Linked DNA regions of Homo sapiens: regions 2, 3, 4 and 5 are each linked to region 1. Evidence: promoter capture Hi-C in human tissues and cell types (Jung and others, 2019). All regions are on one chromosome and are shown on one strand. The core of a region is centred on a gene start or on the middle of the fragment in contact, and the rest is flanking DNA. Distances in the headings are between cores, read along the strand shown.

The links. Contacts are between HindIII fragments. The study calls those that stand out against the background at their distance.
Region 2: a contact is called between a fragment that was not itself captured here and the fragment with the promoter of LYZL1 in region 1, in 3 of the 25 tissues and cell types used here (heart right ventricle, mesenchymal stem cells and mesendoderm cells).
Region 3: a contact is called between a fragment that was not itself captured here and the fragment with the promoter of LYZL1 in region 1, in 4 of the 25 tissues and cell types used here (heart left ventricle, mesendoderm cells, ovary and 1 more).
Region 4: a contact is called between a fragment that was not itself captured here and the fragment with the promoter of LYZL1 in region 1, in 2 of the 25 tissues and cell types used here (dorsolateral prefrontal cortex and mesendoderm cells).
Region 5: a contact is called between a fragment that was not itself captured here and the fragment with the promoter of LYZL1 in region 1, in 4 of the 25 tissues and cell types used here (H1 embryonic stem cells, heart right ventricle, small bowel and 1 more).

What each region holds. Positions count from the first base shown.
Region 1 is chr10:29,287,155-29,290,485 of GRCh38, forward strand. LYZL1 (lysozyme like 1) reads left to right here and starts at 1,916. Exons shown (of 5, transcript NM_032517.6): 1 at 1,916-2,076. The HindIII fragment of the contact is 13,518 bases long and covers 1-3,331 here.
Region 2 is chr10:28,945,459-28,948,838 of GRCh38, forward strand. No RefSeq gene overlaps it. Among named protein-coding and RNA genes, the nearest start is that of C10orf126, 100 kb to the left of the region's middle. The HindIII fragment of the contact is 4,803 bases long and covers 1-3,380 here.
Region 3 is chr10:28,962,524-28,965,910 of GRCh38, forward strand. No RefSeq gene overlaps it. Among named protein-coding and RNA genes, the nearest start is that of C10orf126, 120 kb to the left of the region's middle. The HindIII fragment of the contact is 3,221 bases long and covers 403-3,387 here.
Region 4 is chr10:29,014,141-29,017,524 of GRCh38, forward strand. No RefSeq gene overlaps it. Among named protein-coding and RNA genes, the nearest start is that of C10orf126, 170 kb to the left of the region's middle. The HindIII fragment of the contact is 4,878 bases long and covers 1-3,384 here.
Region 5 is chr10:28,920,940-28,924,405 of GRCh38, forward strand. No RefSeq gene overlaps it. Among named protein-coding and RNA genes, the nearest start is that of C10orf126, 76 kb to the left of the region's middle. The HindIII fragment of the contact is 5,125 bases long and covers 1-3,466 here.

The DNA of each region.
Region 1 (3,331 bases), core at 666-3,165:
CAATATGCCTTATGCCTTGTTTTATTTTTGTTGTTTTCGTTGTTTTGCACATAGACAGTCTTATTTTAGTACCATGTGTTAAATGGAACATCATCTTTCCATTGAATTTAATTTGCATCTTTATAAAAAGCTACTTGACTACATATGTGTAACACTATTTCTAGGCTCTCTATTTTGTTACACTGTCCTATGTGTCTGTTTCCACAAATATCATCCTGTCTTGATTACTACAGCTTTATATTAAGTTCTAAAATCAAGCAATATGAGTCCTTCAATTTTATTATTCTTCTGAATAGTTTTGCCTACTCTAGTCCCTTTGCCTTTTCATATAAGTTTTAGGACCCTCTTATTGATATTTTCTAAACAATTTTTCTGGGAGTTTAAATGGGATTCCACTAAATCTATGTATTAAATCTTAATAATATTGACTCTTCAAATTCATGAATATGGTGTGTCTTTTTCATTTACTCAGGTCTTCTTTAATTTTCCGTCTGTCTTATAGTTGTCAGTATATATATCCTGCACATATTTTGTTAGGTTTAAATTTAAGTACTTCATTTGCATTTGTGTACTATTGTAAATGGATTTTTTTTTATTTCAAACTCTTATTTTCTATTCCTAGTATATAAGATTGTAAATGGCTTTTGTATATTTACGTCATATCTGAAAACTTGCTAAGCAAGCATTTTTGAAAAAGAAAAAGACAATCCGTCTCTATTTTCTCACTGGTAAGATCCCTATTTCAAAGCATTTTGAAAAAGATGTTTGAGGGAAAAACCTATACATTTTCTCATATTATAGACTGTTCACAAGAAGTCCACTAATGGCTTCTAAAGATAAAAAAGACCCTCAAGCAGCTTGAAATAACGAAAGTTGAAATTGAAACTCTGCTGAAAAATTATGTTTCATCTCTAATATTGAGAAATATTGAAACATTTGATAACACAGTGTGCTATCTTCCTGATACAAGCCCATGTGAAAGGCAATTTGGCAAATATCTAGCAAAATTACAAAATTATACCCTTTGATCCAGCAAGATATTCTTGTAAAGTTACAAATGACATATGTACAAAATTACTGGTTGTAATATGTTTACAATAGAAGAATAAAATAAGTGTGCATCAATATGAAATTGGCTAAGTATGCTATGTTGTATCTGTATAATGCAATACTATATGAACTTCAAAATAGATTTCAACAAAACCTTTGCATTATTGGCAGATGGAATTTAAGAAAATATAACGATTAGTTAGGTGCAGCCAACAATAAACTTCTACTTAGATCTACATATTCTAATGAGAATTCATTTCAAATGTGTCACTAAATCTGAACATTGAAATAAATAGACCTTGAAAACAGCCCTTTAGTTATTGATTCACAAAGTGTTAAGCCAAATTTTTCAAAAATAATAAAATCATGTTATTACAAAAATATTTTATTAATAATAATTTGACTATAGCAAATGTGCTGTTAATAAATTTTTAATGTTAATTTCACCTCTATGTCATTAATTTTCAAATTTTAGTTTTATGTATGTTGATAATTTATGTAGCATATTAGTACTGAGGTACAGAAGTATGATTTATAACTCAATGTACATCTAAAGAGGATACATGCTTAACTTTCTTTATTAATGGAATTTGTGATAAAGTTTGCAGACGCCTCAGAGAAGAGCTCTCACTTGGACAGGAGGCCCTGGCCAAGTTGTGTAATGAGGAGGGTTGTTGAGGGGAAAAGACAAAAAACAAGAGGTATTAAGCCCCAGAAGACAGTTATCACCTGCCTCAGAACACAAGCATGCAGGATGATACAGCTTTTAGTGCCAAGAAGTAGAATTCTAGCATCTCTAGGTGGTGAGAAACAAAGGATTAAGAATTTTTCTTTCTCTAACACTCTAAAGAAATGTTCTTGAGCTAGGAAAGGATTACTCGCGCCTCGTTAGAATCAGACATGGCTTCAGGGGATGCAGGACGCTCCCCTGAGCTGCCTGTCACCGACTAAGTGGAGCAGTGTTTCTTCCGCAGACTCAACTGAGAAGTCAGCCTCTGGGGCAGGCACCAGGAATCTGCCTTTTCAGTAAGACCTAAATTACTCTTATGAGAACCAGCAATGGCAGGTTCTTGAAGGATGTAGAACATGATGCTTGGGGTTATCATTGCTGCGGGTTTTCTTTGGACTTGTTTGAGATCAGTAAAATTCTAAGGCAGGGGATGGAAACCAACTCTATTTGTAAGCTCTGTATCTTTTTTTCTTTTTTCTTTTCTTTTTTTTTTTTTTTTTTAGACAGGGTCTCTCACTCTGCTGCCCAGGCTGGAGTGCAGTGTCACAATCATGGCTCACTATGGCCTCAAACTCCCAGCCTCAAGTGATCCTCCCACCTCAGCCTCCCCAGTAGCTGGGACCACAGGCACACACCACCATGCCTGGCTAATTTTTGTATATTTTGTAGAGGCAGGGTCTACCTTTGCTGCCCAGGCTAGTCTCAAACTCCTGGCTTCAAGCAATCTGCTCACCTCAGCCTCCCAAAGTGCTTGGATTACAGGTATCACCCACCATGCCTGGCCTTAGCTCTGCATCTTAAACCTCGTTTGTCTGTCCCTCACAGCTTAACACAGTGCTGTACACAGCGGACTGGCATGCTCTCTCTGAAAAGGGCCAGATAATAATATGTTAGGCTTTGTGGTCTATACGGCCTCAAACACAATTACTGAACTCTGCCACTGTAGTTGGAAATCAGCCACCAATGATATATTACCAAATGGGTGTAGCTATGTTTCAATAAAACTTTACATACAAAAGCGGGCCTGGTTTGCCCACGCTTGCTATTCACGTTTGTAATGTACATGCCCCTCATGCAATGCAGTTCCTTACCTTATTGCTTAGTCACCTTAAAGCCCTGCTTGTTACTTGGTGCGGTGGCCTTGCTGATGACTACTTATCCCTGTTTTGGGCCTAGCCTTTCAATGCAGGAATCCAGCCCCAGGGAGAGAAACTAATGACTGGAGAAGTTTCTAGGCAAGTGCAGAAAATGACACGGGATGAACATATGTAAGAACATCAAGTTCAGGATCCCGAGTAGTTGTCAGAAATTTCACTTCACCCCATCCCAGCAAGGCTGTTGTATTTGGGGAAGACATTATTTCAAGAGGGGAAGAGATTGTGGAAAATCAGTAGGCAGCAGGAGACAGCTCTCTTGATCCTACTCCCATTTCAGATGATTCCGCAGGGGTCTCTTTATTGCCCCTCTGCTCCCCCAGGTGCTTTCCTCCTTTCATGAGGCTTTGTCCTCCATCCCTCTTGCTCCCCAGTCAGGTGCCAGACTTTTAGGAGG
Region 2 (3,380 bases), core at 334-2,833, 340 kb before region 1:
GTAAGTGTTGTGTCACTTCCTTCTGGCCTCCTAGGTTTCAAAGAGAAATCTGCTTTCATTTAAATTGGTGTTCCGCTACAGGTAATATGTTATTTCTCTCTTGCTATTATTAAGACATTTTTCTTTGTCTTTCGTTTTCAGAAGTTTCATTATGATGTGTTTTGGTGGGAATTTCTTTTAGTTTATGCTGTTTGGGTTTGCCCAACCTCTTGGATTTGTTGGATTAAGTCTTTTGCTAACTGGAGACATTTTCAGCCATTATTTATTTGACTCCCTTTTCAGCTTCACATTCTTTTCCCTCTCATTCTGGCAGTTCAATAATATAATTTTTTTAAACTTACATTTTTGTTCCATAAATGCTAAGAATTCATTCATTAAATTTTTTTTTAGTTTATTTTCTTTTTGAATAAACTAAAGTTCACCAATTCTATTCTTTGTTGTCTCCACTTTACCACTGAATTCATACAGTGGGGTTTTTTTAGTTTTAGTAATTGTATTTTTCAGTTCTATAATTTTCACTTGTATTATTCATTTCTATAATTTCACTATAAATTATAGTTTTTTTTAAAAAAACGTTTCTGTTTCTTTGCCAAGATTTTCTATTTTATTTCTTCCTAGAAAATATGTAAGTGTAGAAGCATTTTAATGATGGCTACTTAATGTTCTTTATCTGATAATCCCAAGTCATGATTCATCTCAGTGCTGCTGTCAGCTGATGGTCTTTTCTCACTTTTGTGTTTTTTATGGTTCTTCCTATCATTAATGGCTTTCTGTTGTGTCTTGGATATTTTGAATATTATGCTTGGCAGCTTTTGATTCTATTTCAACTTCTGTTTAAGTTTAGGTCTTGCCTATTTTTGTGAGCTATTGGTTCAATGACCATTTAATTTCAGAGCCCTTGCATATTGTTCTAGCTGACTTTGTTCTTCTGCTTCTGCTGGGCTCTCACTCAATCAATCCCTGAAGAGCTTTCAGTGTGAATGGAGGGGTAGTTTTGGAAGCACTGGGTTTTAGTTGCTGCTGCAGCTGATTGGCCTGCCACTGCCTTGGGTTTGGGGTAGATCACTTCATTAGGTCTCCGCTGGACCACCCCTTTCTCAGTTCTTCAGCAGAGGAGCAAGTATTTTTATTTGTCTATTCCTGTAGGTGGTTCAAGGCTGCCAAAAGGCTGCCTTTTTGATGTCCAGTCTGTGATATATGAACCATAGCAAAAAAACGCAAGGAACTCACTCTGACATCATCCCTTAAGGCTTGACATTTCTAGCCTTCTTCTCACTTTTTCAAATTCTTTTATGATTGTCTGCTGAATTAGTTCCAGGATATTTAGCTATTTTTAGAGAGGAAGAGCAGAGAGAAGTAACTCTGTGTCATCTTGTCCCTGAGCTGGATAGAACTTATTATTTTTACAACAAAAAATTCATTCCCTCCAATAAGAACAATCTTGTGTGTTTAAAAAAATCAGAAAATAAAGATAAGCAACATGGAGAAAGTAAAAGTAGATACCAGTATTCTCAGATTGTTAACACATTGATGGATTTCCTTTCTGATCTCCTCTGTATGTGTAGTTTTGGAAAAAGTTATCAAGTTTTGTATACGTATACGCTAATGTATCTTAAACGTAGACATTTTTAGTTTGCAAAGAAGACACATTGCTAAGTTACTTAAGTGAGGAAAGCTAAGATTAGAATATGAAGAAATCAAGAAAGCTGTCTTTATCGTTGTTCAGACATTCCAGGTACCAGACTTTAAGAAAGACTGGAAGAATGTCTCATTTTCAAGAGGCAAGGCAAGCTCAGGGGACCTCCACCACTAGTGATTGGGCCATTTCATCCCCTTGACACAGAGATCCATTGGTCCCTGCTACTCTCTTACTGTTCCTAACAGAGAGACTTTGTTTGGATCAGTTTTCACATCACTTAATACGGAGCATGTGTACTGGGCAGAGTCTTGAGCCAAGCCACATGATAGGAAGCTAGTTTCCCGTATGACCACGTTACACAAGTTCACGCTGGTCTCTTATGGCTCAGGCCCAAGTCTCACACATTGTGAACACAGTAGCAACGTTCATATAACACTATATACTACATTTTACATGGAAAAAAACTACCTGTGGTCAATGTCTCATGAAAGAGTTGTGGGAGGGGAGATACACTGGGAAACCCAGGCCTGTATATTTCAAATATTTAGAACATTTGGTGCCAGGTGCAGTGGCCCATGCCTGTAATCCCAGCACTTTGGGAGGTTGAGGTGGGAGGATTACTTGAGCCTAAGAGTTCAAAATCAGCCTGGGCAACATAGCAAGACCCTGTCTCTACTAAAAATAAAAAAAAATAGCTGGATGTTGTGGCGTGTGTCTACAGTCCCAGGTAATTGGGAGGCTGAGATGGGAGGACTGCTTGAGGCTGGGAGTTTGAGGCTGCAGTGAGCCATGATTGCACTACTACGCTTTAGCCCCTTTTTTTTCTCAAAACAAACAAACAAAAAGCAGAACATTTGGGTTGATTTCAAGTTTTTACTAATGTGAAAAACAGCCCTGTGGCTCATCTTTGCACTAGTCTTTCACATCCACATGGACATGAGTGACTTTCACAGGTAATAATAATGACAATACAAATCACAATTGCTCATAGGACATATAGAACCTCAACAGCTGTCAGTTGAGAAAATGCATTCATTTTGCTATACTTTTGCAGAATTCTTATGCCTGAATATCATATAACAAATAACTGAATATATCTCAGAGGCAACCGAGGTTCATAGAGCCAAGTGATACACCCAAAGGCATGTGACTCAATTGTGGAAAATTCTAAGGGTAAACTTCAGGCCTGGCAACATCTAGTCTAGGTGTCTTGCTACTATGCTGTGCTGCCTTTCTCTTCTCAGAAAAAAGTGTTCTTAGGAGACCAAGGCTACAATGCTGTTTAGAAATCCCTCTTATTCACATTTTAGGGAGACTTTGAACAATAAAGGTAAAACAAAAAATAAGGTTTTTCTGGTTGACTCTCAATTAAACAATGAAATTTATTAGAAATTAACTAGAAAATTTTATTTCTAAATATTTTGGTAAGTTGAAGATGTTCTATAAATAAGGAGATTGATTGGCACCTGCTGTATACAAGCCCTATTAATCACAGCTGCTTGAGTTCTTAGGCAGCCGTAGGATTTATCCATTTCCTTCATCATTGACTCTTTCGGTCACATATATCTAAGGGCTATTGGGGAGATTATGATGATAGTTTTCTCAAATTATTTACCCCAATCAAAGTATCTACTTTTTGGGAATCTCTGGTACATTGCCTTAGGCATAAAAGCTTAACAAATGGAACATGATTACTAATATTCCCACATTTTAAATTCGTGTTTAAGGTAGATGTCCTGAA
Region 3 (3,387 bases), core at 763-3,262, 320 kb before region 1:
CTCTTAAGTCTTCACTCAAACAAATTAATAAAGGACAAAGGAGAGAATGATGAAAACTTGTGTTTCATTGTTGTTGCTTACCTTCCCAGATATTTAACAATTTTATGTCCTGGGGGTGAGTTTTGGTAGCACAGGAGAAAGCTTCTTAGCCAATATAATTGAAACTATAAGTGGGTCAGTTACTAAAAATAAGGATAATAATATGGAACAAAGAAACATTAAAAATGTTACATATTCATATGGTTTGGCTGTGTCCTCACCCAAATCTCATCTTGAATTGTAATTCCCACAATTCCCACACATCGTGGGTGGAACCCAATGGGAGGTGATTGAATTATGGGGGCAAGTTTTTCCCTAGCTGTTCTCGTGACAGTGAATGAGTCTCCCGAGATCTGATGGTTTTAAAAATGGGAGTCTTCCTGTGCAAGCTCTCTCTTTGCCTGCTGCCATCCATGTAAAACATGACTTTCTCCTCTTTGCCTTCCACCATGATTGTGAGGCCTCTGTAGCCACGTGGAGCTGTGAGTCCAAGAAATCTCTTTCTTTTGTAAATTTCCCAGTCTTGGGTATGTCTTTATCAGCAGCATGAAAATGGATGAACACATATATATATTTTAAGACAATTTGAACTTGACATGTATAAATATATATTCATTTGCCAAGCTTTTGATGCCAGATTGAGGGCTTTTACTCCAATTATAGGGCCTCTACTTAGGGTTCCTTTTTCTCTTCCTCACAAAACCCATTCCTGTAAAGCAGCATGCTTTATCTCTAGTTTTGCTCTCTTTAAACTAGAATAAAACTGAGGACAAGCACAAAGAAACTAGAGTGCAGACTCCTCATAGATTTGAAGAATTTCCTACCCAGTAATTTTTAGTTGTCTAACCCTTGCCTAATTTGATTCATTTTTGCAACTCACATTTATCTAGCTTTCCAAAACACTCAACCTAGGTTTATAGAAACAACCCTCTTCTGATATTTGTTTTCATCAATTTACTTAACTCAAAATTAAATCTCATAATTATATGACTATGACTGTTATCACAAGGTATTAAGTAACTCCGAGTAAGCAAATAAGTCAACAGTTAGCAGGAGAAGAGGCCAGGCATCACCTTTAGCATTCTGGGAGCCCAGGCCATTGTTCTGTTTGTCTTACAGGGCACCAGATATGTTTCTGGAGTTGATCAAACAGGTTGGTTGAGAAGGCTTCTACAGTGTTTCATGGTATTACAGCTAGCCCCAGGAATGCCCATATCCACCTATAGAACCACTCCTTTGTGAAAGATTTCTTAAAAAGATATATGTAAGACAGTTCTCTGGGGGCCTTGGACTAACCCATTTCTTCCCATTTCTTACTTGTTCTCAATAATAACTGATGAGTGTGCTGGGAATGCAATATCTTGAGATAAGGGGGAGCTGACTGGAACAGCCTGGGCTCTGTTCCAGCCTCTCCTAGAAAAAGGATGTCCCTTCAATGGTTTAGCTTAATGAGTCCTGTAACCACAGGGTATAAAACTCAGGGCAGGATGCTTTTTCGGGTCCCTCAGCTGCGATGCAATTGGGGCATACACAGATGAAACTCCATCTGCCATGGGCAATTTTCCTGAGACTTAGGGAGGCACAGGCTCATCGTGAATTCCAGGGTTCTGTTGTCCCTTGCTGCCTAAGTAATAAATTCACTTCATGTAACTTGCGTGTGTGAGTGTTCTGTCTCAGCAGACTTGGGCAAGTAACCAGCGCATAGTGAGCCTGATGTGCAATATACATAAGAAAGAGTAGCATAACTTCCTCCTAGCAGCTTGGCTCACTGGTAAAGGAGAGCTGGCATAAGAACCACACTTGGAGATTTTCCCACTGTCGGGCAAGCTTCATAGCACAGGAGCCCAGTTCAGGGGTCATCACACATTCAGGCATGGGTGAGAAAGCAGAGGGCTGCTGGGCCTCCAAGTGGGCTTTGACTCCATTTACTCACTTGGACTTGTGGAAGAAGATCAATGGGGAAAATGTCAGAAGTTAAATAGCTTACAGAATAAACTTACCAATGCAACTGCCTACAAGGCAGAAGTAGAACAATGAGAAATATAGTTTTTGTAATACTTGTTTTTGTTATTTATTTATTTACTTTTGAGACAGGGTCTTGCTCTGTCATCCAGGCTGAAGTGCAGTGGTGCAATCACAGCTCACTGCAGCCTCAACCTCCTGGGCTCAAGCGATTCTCCCTCCTCAGCCTCCCAAGTAGTTGGACTACAGGCGGGCACCACCACACCAGGCTAAGTTTTTTCTTTGTTTGTATTTTTAGTAGAGATGGGGTTTTGCCATGTTGCCCAGGCTGATCTGGAACTCCTGGGCTCAAGAGATCCTCCTGCCTTAGCCTCCCACAGTGTTGGGATTACAGGTTATTTATTTATAGTAATATGGTGAAGCCCCGTGAACTGCCTGCTCATACTCAAGCCCGGAGTAATATCTGTAACTTTTGTTTGCCTGTATGCCCCTCCTCTCTCCCCTCCTCTTGCCTCCCCCATCAAGAGTAGCCAGGATTCAAGTCATGCATTTTATCATTCTCTTACTTATTTTTGTTTTAAATACATGTATGCATACAATCTACTTAATCAAGGTAAAAAAAAAATAAAATAAACTTTTTTACTATTTGCCCAGTTGTGCCTGCCCTGGAAGTCTAAGAAAAGGATAATATAAAAGATTCAGTAGAAGCCTATAAATAATTGCATTATCTAGAGAAACACCAATTGTTTTTGAGGGAGTAAGAGGAAACCAGTGTTTCACAGAGAAATTAGAAATAGCTAACTTAGTTTCCTTTTGGTCTAAAAAATCAACGATCTTTCTTTTCCACTTATCTTTATTTTTTTTTTTTTTTTTTTTTTGTCACACCAAGGGTTTGAACCCAGTTGTTGAATTGCACTGTAGAATGGACCAAGAATGTGGCTATGGCGGTATTTCATAACTGGTTTGCCTTGGAAGCAGAGTCAACATCTTCCTGTTAGGGGATGTGGTATAATCACCACCTACATGATAGATGGGGAGGTCACAAAAAGTTCATTATTCTAGAGGATCCCAATAAGCTTAGAAAAGTTATTTCAACACAAACGTGACTGTATTTCTGTTATCTGAGATTGCTTCTTCCTATACTACCTGCTTTCTACATCATCCTTTCTTTTCTTAGAGGGAAAATAATCCCACTCTCTCCATTTCTTCTCTCAGATGCTTATTCTATAGTCTGTCCTGAGACCAGGGTTAAGATCTTTGCAGTCTTCCTGGTGTCCTGTAAGACAGCCAGTGTTATTCTAAGTTTGGAATGAGAGAAAAGATGAGGAAGTTTCTGTGTCCAGCAGTGTGGTCCTGAAGCCTCAGCCTCAGTACCTGGCATGGTGG
Region 4 (3,384 bases), core at 772-3,271, 270 kb before region 1:
TATGTGTCAAGTCCAACTCTTTGTTTAGCCCTAGGCCCTGAAGATTTTTTCCTAAAAGTTTACAGTTTTACACTTCAAATTTAAATCTATGATCCATTTTGAGTTAATTTTTGTATAAAATGTGAGACTTAGGTTTAGGGTTCAGTTTTTGCCTATGGATGTCCAATTGCTTTGTTTTTCAATTTGTTGAAAAAAAGTGGTTCTTGCTCCAATGAATTGTTTTTGCACCTTCATCAAAAATTAGTTGGTTATATTTGAATCGTTCTTTTTCTGGGTTGTTAACTCAGTTCCTTTGATTTATGTGTCTGTCCTTCCACCAATACACACAGTCTTAATTACTGTAGCTCTATAGTAAGTCCTGAAATTGAATAGATAGATTCCTCTGCCTTTTTTCTTCTTTTCCAAAATTGTTTTGGCTGTTTTAGTTCCTTTACCTTCCCACAGGAATTTTATAATAATTTTGTCTATATCTACAAAAAATTTTGCAGGAATTTTGATAGAAATTGCATTAGACTTGTATATCAATTTGGGCAGAATTGACATCTTTACTATATTCATTACTTCCAATCCATGGACATAGTATATATATCTCCATTTACTTAGGTCTTACTTGATGTCCTTCATCAGCATTTTGTAGTTTCAGCATACAAAGTCCCATACAAGTTTTGTTAGATTTATACCTAGGTATTTCATTTTTGAGCAATTGTAAATGTTACTGTATTTTTAATTTCCATGTCTGCATATTCATTGCATTCATTGATAGCAATTACATTTTGTATGTTTATCTTGTATCTTGTAAGCTTGCTGATCTCATTTATTAGTTCTAGGAGTTTTTTTGGTAGTAGATTCTTTGGGATTTTTATGTAATCATTTCCTCCGAAAATAGAGGTAGTTTTTTTTTCTTTCTAATCTGTATCCCTTTCACTTCTTTTTCTTGCCTTGTTGTATGACTAGAACTTCCAGCACTATGTTGAGAAGAAGTGATGAGAGTGGATATCCTTGCCTTCTCCTGGTCTCAGGGGGAAGCATTCAGTTTTTCACAAGTAAGTATATTAGATATAGATGTTTGTAGATGTTTTTTATCAATTTGAGGAACTTCCCCTCTAATGTATTTGTTTATATTTTAAAATTTAGAAATTTAGATTATATGAACATTACAGGAGTTTTTTTCTCTTTCTTTTTCTTTTTAATATGATGACAATCATGTTTTTCAAGTTTTTTTCTCAAGTTTACAAAAGTACTTTTGTCATCTATTCCCACCCAAAGGATGTTGTATTGTTGTTTTGCTATTCTTGGATTTGTTATGGAATGTGCTGCTTACACAGAGGAAATGTTGGCTATCAATCTTAAGCTAACTCACTAAGAATGAAAATAAGTCTCAGGTCATAGTTTGGCTAGTGAAGGACCCATTTCTTTATGGCTTTGGGTATAACACAGAAAAGATGTTGGGAAATAAAGGGAAAGGGATTGTGGGTTCAGTGACCATTCTTCTGTCTCTGCTCAGCCCCCTGCCTCCCAGGCCTACAGAGAGCTGGCATTACAGTCTAAACTCCAGAGTCAGAGATATCTTTCCTCCTGACCCTAATTTCCTTGGGGCCACTTGGCACTGCAGAGCTCAAGCAAAGTGCGTGTTCATCTCTGACTCCTGCCTGAACACTCCAAAGTCTTTTTCCTCCAGGTCAGGGATTTTGTTTTGTTTTGTTTGTTTTGTTTTGTTTTTGCTCAGCCTGTTCAATGAGAGCTGCAGGACAAGAAGCCCCGCAGTGTTGCTTTCCTTTTTTTCCATCTTAGACTTTCCAGGCCTGCAAGTGTTTAAGTATACCTCTACTGCTTGTCTGCTAAGCCTCGCACGTCACATAACTCTCCTGGGTGTTTGATTTTTGCTTTAAAAAGATGAGCCTCCATCTGAGTTCCTACCAACCACAAAGTGAAATGAAAATCTGGCAAAGTTCAATCCTATAGATGTGAAGTGGTGGGGGGTTTGTTTGCTTCTTCAGTTTGTTTGCTTTAATTATGCAGGTGGGCTTTCTACATTAATCAAACTTCTTTGGTACCTCCCAGTCCCAGACCCCTTTTTTAGCTCTGGTTTGTGTTAACATAGAACTCACCATATGTATGTCCTTGGGGTGTCATTTTGTTCTCCAATTTTATTATCTTCTGTTTAAGCAGTGAAACTCCAAGTGGAGCTACTACCCAGGATCACAATATGAGAAGAACAGTTCATAGCTGCAAAGCATTATGGAAACAAAAAGTCCCCTTTAACTGCATAATGTCCCCGATTTACTCCTGGTAATTTTAGTGGCTTTCTTCTGAGAAGCTCAAAGCATTTCACAGTCTTTATTTGGCCACTGGCAGATTTCATAACGTGCGACATGTACCAGGATTGACAGTCATTCCCATGTGCAGTTCTGCATTTTATTGATAGGATGCTTTACATAATTTTGAATGAAAACAGCCTACAGACCTTTGGTATATTTGATATATGAAAACAGCCTGCAGACCTACAGCCTTATGTACTTCAGCCTACAGACCTTTGGAATATTTTTGGCTTCGAGAGGAGCACTTATATTTGTTGCCTTGGTAATGAATATTTCCTCAATTGCTCAAAGTGATCGATATTTTTAAAAAACACTAACAAAGACCCCATGTCTCTGGAACTGATTAGAAATGTAAAGGGAGTTGTTAGTCCTCCTCAGCCAAAAGGAGATGGATAAAAATCTCCTTGGAGTTAGATGAAAGATCTGGGCAACTGTTCACTGTGGCTAAGCCTTAGTACATCTGTGTCTTGAGGTTCAGCAAAGTGATATCTCTACTAAGATGGATAACTTCAGATATTATTTGGTGTGGACTGTATCCTACAAGAGGCTTACAGAACCTAAGATTGAGTTTTGCAGGACTAGAAGGAAAATACCTCTGAATTGTCTTCAATTATAAATTGCTTCCTTAGAGGGGGGTTAAGATTAAAAATACATTTACAACAGCTACAAAAAAGATACCTAGGAATAAGTTTAACCAAGAAAGTGAAAGATCTCTACAATGAAAACTATAAAATGCTGATGAGAGAAATGAAAGAAGACACAAATAGAAAAATATCCGTGTTCACAGATTGTAAAAATTAACATTATTAAAATGTCCATACTACCCAAAGAATCTACAGAATCAACCCAACCCTATCAAAATACCAATGACATTCTTCACAGAAATAGAAAAAAAAATCCTAAAATTTATATGGAACTACACAAGACCCTGAATAGCCAAAGCAATTTTGAGCAAAAAGAACAAAGCTGGAGGCATTACACCACTGAACTTCAAAATATACTACAGAGCTATAGTCATCAAAATAGCATGGTATTGGCATAGAAACAGACACATAGACCAATGGAA
Region 5 (3,466 bases), core at 953-3,452, 370 kb before region 1:
GCAGGCTGTGTGCCCATTAAAGCCCCAAATCCTCTGCTGTCCATCTTTCTCTACTCCATGGTTTGCCTTAAAGCACAGTTCGTCAAAAGCCACCATCCTGGACTTGCCAACACACAGCTAGATGATCATAAGGTATGGAGAGCATAAATTAGCTCAAAGACATCACCTATTTTTATTTTAATTTTATTTTTGTATTTTTAGTAGAAACGGGGTTTCACCATGTTGGCCAGGCTAGTCTTGAACTCCGGACCTCTGGTGATCTTCCCGCCTCTGCCTCCCAAAGTGCCGGGATTACAGGCATGAGCCGCCGCACCCAGCCAGACATTACTTATTAAAGCTGAGATGTAACATAAGAAGAAATAAACCCATTCAATTGTCTCCTTGAATAGTAAAATACATGCTACAGGAAGCTATCAGAGATTTTGTGAGCTGTAATGTCTTTAGGAGGAATAAAAAAGATTTTGTTTTTAACAATTCTTCATCTCTGACAACCGAATACAATTTTTTTCCAACGTGACCAAAGAGTGCTGAACATCTCACCAGCAATGTCATCTTTCGCTCCACCTTGAAGTGAACAGAGTGATAAGAAAATCATTTTTTCACTAGTAGAAAAGTTATATGATTTCTAAGAATCCTTGGGCAGTCATTGCTTTGAAGACTTGTTTGACCAAAAACTCATGTTGCCCATCAAAGACTCTTAGCTTTTTCTCAACAGTTGTAATGAGAAGGATTATGATCAGTTCTTAAAAGTGTACAAGTTAACAAGATAATACTTGGCATCAAGTCCATCTCTAAGCTTCTTAAAAGGTCTTTAAAACAAACGATTAACTCTCTTCACACTACCTATGGATGGAGTAGACTTCATTGAAGGTTTGGAAAAAAAGGGAGAGGAGGGACTAGCAGGCAGGGCGGTTTTTTGTTTGTTTGTTTGTTTTGAGACAGAGTTTCGCTCTTGTTGCCCAGGCTGGAGTGCAATGGGGCGATCTTGGCTCACCACAACCTCCGCCTCCCAGGTTCAAGCGATTCTCCTGCCTCAGCCTCCTGAGTAGCTGGGATTACAGGAGCCTGCCACCATGCCTGGCTAATTTTGTATTTTTAGTAGCGACGAGGTTTCTCGTGTTGGTCAGGCTGGTCTCGAACTCCTGACCTCAGGTGATCCGCCTGCCTTGGCCTCCCAAAGTGCTGGGATTACAGGCGTGAGCCACTGCACCCAGCCAAGCAGTTCTTAAAATGCTCTTATAGCCCTTTGACCCCCCTTTCCCCACTCCCTGTGTCCTCTCTAGGCTGCCTGTCTGCTGGGTGCCCCCTTCGCTGCTTCCATGACTGCCTCTCACCCTCCCTCCTGGATTGTTCTGGCAGGCTCACATTCTTTTCCTTCTGTGATGCAGAGCAATTCCATGCTCTTCTACTAGAATTCTCAGGTTTGACTCAGAGTCCAGGGTCCAGGCAGGAAACAGAAACCACACCAGTGACTTTCACAGAAAGAATTTAATATACAGAATTGCTAACTAGAATTAGGTTACTGACCAGTTAACTGAAATGGCAGAATGTATAGTAAGGTATCCCAGAGGTAGCAATTGCAGAAGGCAGCTACCACCCCAAGGGCTGAAAGAACTATGGGAAGAGTTTGGAGCTATGAAAACATAAATGCTTGAGGATGGGCCCTGTGAAGATGGGATTCTCACCTAGGATGAAAGTGTACTTCTTAGTCAGAGCTAGTGTCTCTGAGCTGGGAGAAGAAGTGTGAGGGTCTGGGACCCAGATTTCCACAGAGGAAATATTGTCTATCTGGTGCTGGTGTTTCTAAGGCTGAGGTGTGAAGAAGCTGGCTGTGCAAGTGCTAGAAAAGCTGGCACCTGGATTCTGTGGCTGATGTGGAAAGGAACTGCCTCTGCGCAGTGAAGTAGTATTGCTACCATGATGCTCAAAAGAGTAGGAAACAGATAAGAAGAAATATGTTCCCTTCTCCTCTTCCAGCCCTGCAGTCTCCCTCTTGAATCCCTTCTTGGTGGAACCTAATAGAGCAGGTGGCCATATAGAAGTGTGGTTTGCAGGTCTGACATCAGCATCACTGAGCAGAATACAGAAGGAAGACATGGAGCTGACAGACAATAGCTTCATAACTGGTGTACACACCCAAAGCCACTAGCGTGTTTAGCAAAATCAAAGAGCTTCCAGTTGAACAGCGTTGCCCTTTCATCTCAGTGGCCTTTCTCTGTCATGGACACCTGGCTGGCACATGACTGAAGGAACTAGCAGGTGGGAAAAGGAGAGGAGAGATCAAATATTTAAGATGTGCCTCCTTTGCCCTCCAGTGCCAGATCCTTAGGTCTGGGAACTCACATCTAAGTGCTATTGGCATCTTCCTGGGACCTTAGGAAAAAATTTGCCACAGCAGTTTCCAACCTGTCTGGGAAGCACTTGAGGCTTAGCTCCTGCACCATCCACTTGGAACTGGATTGGTTGTCCTTGTCCCTGACTCTTCTATGATTTCCTCTCTGTATCCAGCTCTATTTAGATGGCTTATCCTCTGTAAATCTTCCCTCTATAAAGGCATTACTCTGCTAGATCTCCTCCATTCACCCCGCATTGCAGTCACAGCCAAGGCTCAGGCCCATGCCCATCTGATTCCAGGCCTATGGACACAACCTTTACCTCTCAGGACAGGGGGAAGTGATGCTTTTAAAATGTCAAATCTTGTCTCCTTCCCAATAATTTTAAATATGATTTCCATATAATGATAAGGCTTTGTGAGATTCAGAGAGGTTAAGTAGCTTGCCCCAAATCATACAGCTAGAAAGTGGTAAAGCCTGGGTTTCAATACTTGATGGTTTGGCCCTGTCTCCTACCTTGAAGATGACACTTATGTGGAAAATAAGTGGCAGTTTCCTCTTTCTTCTCCCAATCTCTCATCTATGAATGAAATTAGTAAAGGATAATCCAGGAGTGGTGGTTTACGACTGTAATCCCAGCACTTCGGGAGGCCAACGCAGGAGGATCACTTGAAGTCAGAAGTTTGAGACCAGCCTGGGCAACATAGAAAGACTCCACCTCTACCAAAAAAAAAAAAAAAAAAAAAAGAAAAAAGGGAAAAAAAAGGAAATTAGTAAAGGATACTAGCATTCCTTCCTGCTGGTTGAATTCTGCCTCAGAAGGTTTCTTAGCACAGTGCTCTAGAACACCACTACCAATTAAATGGAGCTGGCACACGAGATGAAACTTACTTAACGTGTTTGCCATGAGCCACCCTCTTTTCTTTCTTTTTTCTTTTTCTTTTTTTTTTTTTTTTTTTTGAGTCGGGGGTGATGGGTAGATCTCGGCTTACTGCAACCTCCGCCTTCTGGGTTCAAGCAATTCTCGTGCTGCAGCTTCTTGAGTAGCTGGGATTACAGGCGGGCGCCATCACGCCCGGCTAATTTTTGTATTTTCAGTAGAGACGGGGTTTCATCATGTTGCCCAGGCTGAT